Regions from separate parts of the Homo sapiens genome. Here region 2 is linked to region 1. Evidence: promoter capture Hi-C in 16 types of primary human blood cells and fetal thymus (Javierre and others, 2016). All regions are on one chromosome and are shown on one strand. Each heading gives the region's core, a stretch centred on a gene start or on the middle of the fragment in contact. The rest is flanking DNA. Distances are from core to core; before and after follow the strand shown.

What was found. Contacts are between HindIII fragments. The CHiCAGO score rates a contact against its expected background, and 5 or more counts as called.
Region 2: a contact is called between the fragment with the promoter of SIGLEC8 here and a fragment that was not itself captured in region 1, in 4 of 17 cell types (monocytes, megakaryocytes, activated CD4 T cells and 1 more). The highest score is 7.4, in monocytes.

The regions. Positions count from the first base shown.
Region 1 is chr19:51,513,286-51,516,718 of GRCh38, forward strand. No RefSeq gene overlaps it. Among named protein-coding and RNA genes, the nearest start is that of SIGLEC12, 13 kb to the left of the region's middle. The HindIII fragment of the contact is 1,040 bases long and covers 1,185-2,224 here.
Region 2 is chr19:51,456,884-51,460,316 of GRCh38, forward strand. SIGLEC8 (sialic acid binding Ig like lectin 8) reads right to left here and starts at 1,571. Exons shown (of 7, transcript NM_014442.3): 1 at 1,051-1,571; 2 at 578-856; 3 at 301-348. The coding sequence starts at 1,504. The HindIII fragment of the contact is 20,005 bases long and covers 1-3,312 here.

The DNA of each region.
Region 1 (3,433 bases), core at 455-2,954:
AGTCTCTTCCATGGGGTAAATGCAATGCCCGACCCTTGAGAAGATCTTACATTCTAAAGGAATTATTGGATTCTCTGATTTATATCAGCAGACACCTGAGAAATATATGTTAAAGTGGACACTAGGAATCTTAGACCAACAAAGATAAAATATTACACTGGCTTAGCCAAATATATTGATACGGGTGTACTAACAAAAGATTACAGATACAATGTTTTGGCTCAAGAAGCTCTCAGGTGGATGAAGGAATTTGCTTTATGTTTGATTGAAACAATATTATCACTATATTCCAATGAAAATGGACTCAACAATGACCCAAATTTAACGAGGATGATGTCAGAACTTTCTTGGCATAATGGAGAAAAAATAACCCAAAGGTTTAGAGAGTTAAAAATGTTGGAAAATAAAAAATGACAAAAGTTCAACCTGTACCCTCATCTCCTCTGCTCTTACCCCTCAAGTAGTATACTGGTAAAGACAGCACAAGTGTCCATGAAAAGCTCTGTGAAGACTAACCTGGTTCAGCCTATTTTTTTTCACCTTATATATTCTGAAGCCATTCTTTGCCTATTTTTGCCTTACATATTCTGAAGCTATTTTATCATGTGCAGGTAAATTTCTAATGTATCTTCCTAGTATATTGAATATTTAATCCTTAAAAAATTGGCCCTTTTATCTCCATTAACACTTTGTTTGGTAAAAGATATATTTTCTGATATTGACATACTTATGATGGTCAGTTTAATGTGCCAATGTTTCTAGGTTATAGTCCCCAGAACATTCAATGAAACGTTAATCTAGGTGTTGCTGTGAAGGTGCTTTGTACACAGGATTAAGATTTATGATCAGTTTATTGGGGATGACAGAAAGAAATACTGCAACGGATATAATCACACTGCTTTCAATCAGGATGATGGAATTGTCAAAGGCAATGTGTCATTACTTAATCCCTAGAGATAAGTTGAGCACATTAGCTTTAAAGAGGATCAGAGATAAAATGGGAGGTCATCCTACCCCTACCAAAGAAGCTCAATTCTTGATAGTCACCTTTGGATTTTGGAGGAAATGTACAACTATGATTGGATGCTCTAACCCACTTACTACGTAAATCTTAAGACTTCCAGTTTGGAGTTGTTCTCAGTTCAAGGAAAGGCTCTGCAGCAGGTCCAGGCTGTAGTATAAGAAGCTTTACAACTTGAGGTTTATAACTCAAGATTAAATTATACTTGAATTATCTGGAATAATTAAGAATGTCGGTGTGCCCCAGAGTGAAGACCCCTAGGACTTTTGTTGCAAAGCCATGCTCTGTTTTTGAGAACATGATGGATCTCTTGAGAAAGAGCTTCTGACTTATTACCAGGCCTTGGTAGAGACTGATACCCTTACTATGGGATATGAAGCGAATATATAATACAAACTGCCCATCATGAAGTAGGTGCTCTGTGACCCATCAAGCTAAAAGGTTGGGCATGTGAAGCAATAATCCATTATGAAGTGAATTTGGATATGATATAACTGACTTCAAGATGGGCTTCAAGAAGTCCAGAAATCACAACCAAGTGACATGAGCAGGTGACCCAGATTCCTACAACTCCTCCTGGGATATTGCCTTATTTTTTCATGAAATCACATGTGTGACCTCATGGGCAGTTCTTTATGGCCATTGCTTGAGGAGGAAAACATTTCATCTTGGTTTTCAAGTGGTTCTGCTCAATCAACTGGCACAGCAAGGAGTGGACTTTTGCATCATGACAAACTCAACCACAGTGAACCTGAGAGCGGGACTGAAGGAACTCCCCCTAGTGGCAGAATTTCATAAATACATTTGGCTTTTCATTTTGAGACTGAGAGGTCAGAAGGACAGATACAAACTGAACCATGCCTACAGCGTTAGGTAACACATTTTTTCCCAGAAATTTGTCCATTTTCTATAAGTATTCAAAACTTTTCATACAGCTTACTACTTTCTGCTTATTTTGCATTAGATTAAGTAATGTTTTCTCCCTTATATTCCTGCATACTAGTTATTTTTGCCTTCTATATTTCTGGACTAATTGCAACTGAGGTTTGCCCATTTTATTATTTGTATCAAAAACTAGCTGTTCGTGATGTTGTTCCTTTCTACTGAATATGTTTTCTATGCTATGTGCTCTTATCATTTGATATTTCCTTCTCTCCAATTCCTTTTGGTTTTGTTGTTCTTTTTCTAAGTTCTTGAAATTAAAGCTTAGTTTATTAAATTTTAGCTTTTCCCACCCTAGCATATACATTTAAGGTTATATATAGTTCCTCTAATAAATGCTTTAGTTTTACTCTAAAAGTTTTATAGTATTTTCAGTATCCAGTTTTAAATAATTTCTTATTTGTGTTATGATGATAATGATGACAATTTTTTTTAAGATGGAGTCTCACTGTTGCCCAGGCTGGAGTGCAGTGCCTCCCAGATCCAAGCAATTCTCCTGCTTCAGCCTGCTGAGTAGCTGGGATTACAGGCACATGCCACCACACCCAGCTAAGTTTTGTATTTTTTTTTTTTCAGTAGAGACAGGGTTTCGCCATGTTGCCCAGGCTAGTCTTGAAATCCTGACCTCAAGTGATCTGCCCACCTCGGCCTCCCAAAGTGTTGGGATTACAGGCATGAGCCGCCACGCCTGGCTGTATGTTTTGATTATTTAATCTATGACTTATTTTAAGGGATTTTCTAAGTTTCCACTAATTATGTACAGTTACATAGACATTGGTATATAATTACATTTTATTACTTATTTTGAGCTTAATAACATTGAAATCAATTAACATATTCTGTATGGTTTCACTTCTCTGACATATGTTGAAATATACTTTTGGCCCAGTATATGGTAAAAAAAAAATTTTTAATACTCCATGTGTGCTCAAATAGAATATGTTTTCTGCAGTTGTTTGGAGCAGTTTCTACCTATGGCCATAGACCAAGTTTGTTAATCATGTTATTTATGTATACTATGTTGCATATCCTTAACAATTCTCTTGTTTGTGTGTACCATCAGTTATTGTAAAATATGTGTTAAAAATTGCCCTCCATAAATGTGGATTAGGCTATTTTGTTTTCACTTTGCCTATTCTTGCCTTATGTATTCTGAAGCTATTTTATCATGTGCAGGTACATTTCAAATGTATCTTCCTAGTAGATTGAATCTTTAATCCCTACGAAGTGGTCCCTTTTACCTCCATTAATACTTCTTTTTGTAATAGACATATTTTCTGATATTGATATATTCAGTTTTATGTGTCAGTGTGTCTAGGTAACAGTCTCCAGGATATTCAATGAAACATTAATCTAGGTGTTGCTGTGAAGATGCTTTGTACACATGATTAAGATTTATAATCAGTTTAAGGAAGATTATGCTTCATAATCTGGGTAAGCCTGATTCAATCTGTGGAAGACCTTCAGTGC
Region 2 (3,433 bases), core at 321-2,820, 57 kb before region 1:
CAAAATAAAAACGAACAAAAACCAAAAAAATTGGGAGTCTGATCCAGCTGTGTGAATGTCACCCTGTCCTTGCTGTGGGGCCAAGGAAGGGGTGTGTGGAGGAGTCTAAGGGGAGCAGGGACAGGATGGGGACAGGGGCTCAGATGGTCACGCGGGCTGGAGATGTGGGCTCTTGTGCCCTGGGCTCACGCACAGTGGCAGCTCTGTTTCCCAAAGTGATTCCAGGATGAGGAGAGACCCAGCCCCATCCTGAGCTGAAGGCCCTGCTCCCCCAACCCCAGGGAGGGGGCTCTGTCCTACCTGTGGCATCTCCTTGGAAGACAGTCATGGTCAAGTTCCAAGGAGGGTCTGGGACAGAAAGACATGAAGACCCACATTACTATAAGGACTGGGGACATTGGCCCTGTCTTCCCAGGAGCTGCAAATACAGGGAAAATGGAGTCGGCATTCTCCTGACCCCACTCCCAGCCCAGATTCTGGGACCCAGAACCCAGTGTCCAGGCTTGAACCCCATCCCCTGCCCTCAGGAACACCTCCCAACCCATGAGGGACCTGGGCATCTTGGTCCAGCACTCACAGGACACATCGAGGCGGACGGTACTGGTCGTGGTCACACCTGTCCCAGGCAAGGTCACCTGACAGGTGAGGCTGGTGCCGTGGTCCTGGGGCTTTGGGGTAAGGGTGAGCACTGAGGAGCGGGCAGTAGTGGGGCCCGGGGAGGACACGGAGGCCCCAATCCAGGAGATCATGGGGGGTGTCCCCTGCTTACAGGCCCAGGGCACAGAGCAGGTCAGGTTCCTGGAGTGGCCAGACTCTAGGGTCCCTAGGATGAGGATGTCAGGCCTATGGGTCAGGGCTGGTGAAGATGGGGACACAGGATCAGGAGGAGGTATTTCAGGTGCAGCCCTGGAGGAAGCTCAAGCTCTGGTCCAGCTCCTCCCCGGAGACCGACTTATTTCAATCCCAACCCCCTCCCAGGCCCCATCCCAGCCCTGCCTTTCAGCCCCTCATGACCTTCCCCTGTGGCCTGTGCTGGAGCCCGTGCCTTACCTGTCACAAACACAGACAGCTGCTTAGTTTTGTAATTCAACTGTGATTTGTAACTCCATTTCATGCTTCCTCTCTCTAGCCGAAAGAAATATGACCCCTTATCCCTCTTCCTGGCGTCTCTGATGCTCAGGGAGCAGTCGTTGCTCCAAATGTCCCCAAGGAGTTGGAATCGGCCCTGGGTCTCTGCCTGCACTTCTCTGTCTGGGTTGTTTGTGGCCACTGGAGCGTCTTGGTATGGTCTGTCTCCTGCCCGGAACCAGTAGCCATGAACTGGGTCAGAGTCAGTCCAGCCATCCTGGGGGTAGGAGAAGGAGCAGGGCACATGGACACACAGGCCCTCCTGCACCGTCACCAGCTCCTGCACTTGCAGCAAGTAACCATCCCCATATTGTCTGTCTCCCTCCATCCCCTTTGTCCCCCAGAGCAGGGGCAGCAGCAGCAGCAGCAGCAGCATGTCTGGGTTTGAAGGCGCCAGGGCCGCCAGGGAACGTCTGTTCCTCAGGGTTCTTCTCTCAGAAACTGAGGTCTCAAGACTTAGGGGAGGTCCCGCAGGAGGTTGGGGGTGAAGTCAGAAAAGTGACCTCCTCAGAGGAGGAACTTCACACACAGACACTGTCAGGGCCGGGTCAGTCCTGGGAGATCCACTGTCCACCACCCCATTTCCACTCCTGGGAACCCTGAGGCCAGAGAGGGTGAGAAACTCATCCAGATTCCCACCCTATGCAGGGCCCAACCTCTTTCTTGCTTCCCGGACTTGCCCTTCCATTTGGGTAACATTTTCTGCAAGGTGAAATTGGGTCCCATCTGGCCAGACCCCTGAATCACCCCCGGGGCTGTCACTGTTTGTGGAGGTCATACCAGCCAAAGGTGGAACTCAGGGCCATGAGAGACTGGGGTGCAGGTGAGGTGAGCAGGCAGCCTCTCCTCCCTCTCTCAGCAGCAACGAAGTGGGCACCTCCTCTTTACACAACGAGGTCAACAGAGCAGAGCCAGACACTGTCCTCAAGGAGTCACTGTGCAGAGGGGAGACACGGAGGCTCCTGACGTCTGAGCTCCCCAGGACGGGAGCTTCAGTGGGGGGCACAGGCAAGGTGGGGTCGTTCTCCCCTAGGTCAGGGGTTCAGTCTCAGGAGGCCTGAGCAGAGGGACACGGGGCTGTGGAGGTGAGGATTCTGCATGTTGATACACACGAAGGACGGGGGGCGGGGGGAAGCCTGGCTCGCAGGAGGCCTGGGAAACTGAGGCTGTAACTGTTGTACTGTGGGGTTTGGAAGGGAGAAATGTCAGAAGGGAAAGGGTCAATTTGAAAAGGGCACACACTTCTCCCTTTGTTGCAGCTATCTGGGTATCAGAATGGGTTTCTTCACCACCCGTATCTTACTCAGCCACACTTCCCCTGGTTACTGCACAGCAGGCGGGGTCTGTCAGCCCTGGGGCTTTGCTCCTGCAGGCTCTGCTTCCAGGGGTCCAGGTGAACAGGTGTCATGGAACGAGGACACCAGCCCTGGGGTGTGCACCTTCAGCGATGGGCAGGATTTCTTGAGAGAAGAAATGTGCACCTGAATTCAACAGATGATGATGATGATGATGATGATGATGATGATTATTATTATTATTATTATTATTATTATTTGAGACGGAGTCTCTCTCTGTCGCCAGGCTGGAGTGCAGTGGCGCGATCCCGGCTCACTGCAACCTCTGACTCCCTGGTTCAAGCGATTCTCCTGCCTCAGCCTCCCAAGTAGCTAGGATTACAGGCATACGCCACCACATCCAGCTAATTTTTGTATTTTTAGTAGAGCCGGGGTTTCACCATGTCGACCAGGATGGTCTGGATCTCCTGACCTCATGATCCACCCACCTCAGCCTCCCAAAGTGCTGGGATTACAGGTGTGAGCCACCGTGCCTGGCCTCAACAGATTATTTTAAACTGTGTGGCTGGGGGCTGGGAAGAAGTTAAGGGGGATCCTGGGAGGCGGAGCCTCCTTAGACTCAGGTCAATTTTCTTGAAACATTTTTTGGGGGGTAAATATAAGAAATATAGATAAAAACAACCCCCAAAGAAGACCTCAGTGATTTACATACAACGAGCCCCCTCCTAGAAATGGCACATTGACAAAGTCCCCAGCGCTGCTCATTTGTTTCTCCTTCTTATTGGCCACACCCCACTCCCTCCCAAACGATCCCCTAGCCTCACTTTGGTGCAAATTGCCTCAATGCTTTTCTATATAGTTTTATTATCTGAGCAGGCTGCATTTACTAAGCTTTTGCACGTTTTTCTGAAGACTTTGTATACACAGAAAATCAAACTCTACTTTCTTCCACTCAGCTTCATGGATCTGCCCGTCTCCTATCTTCCCCTCATTACTTATAACCTGGAGTA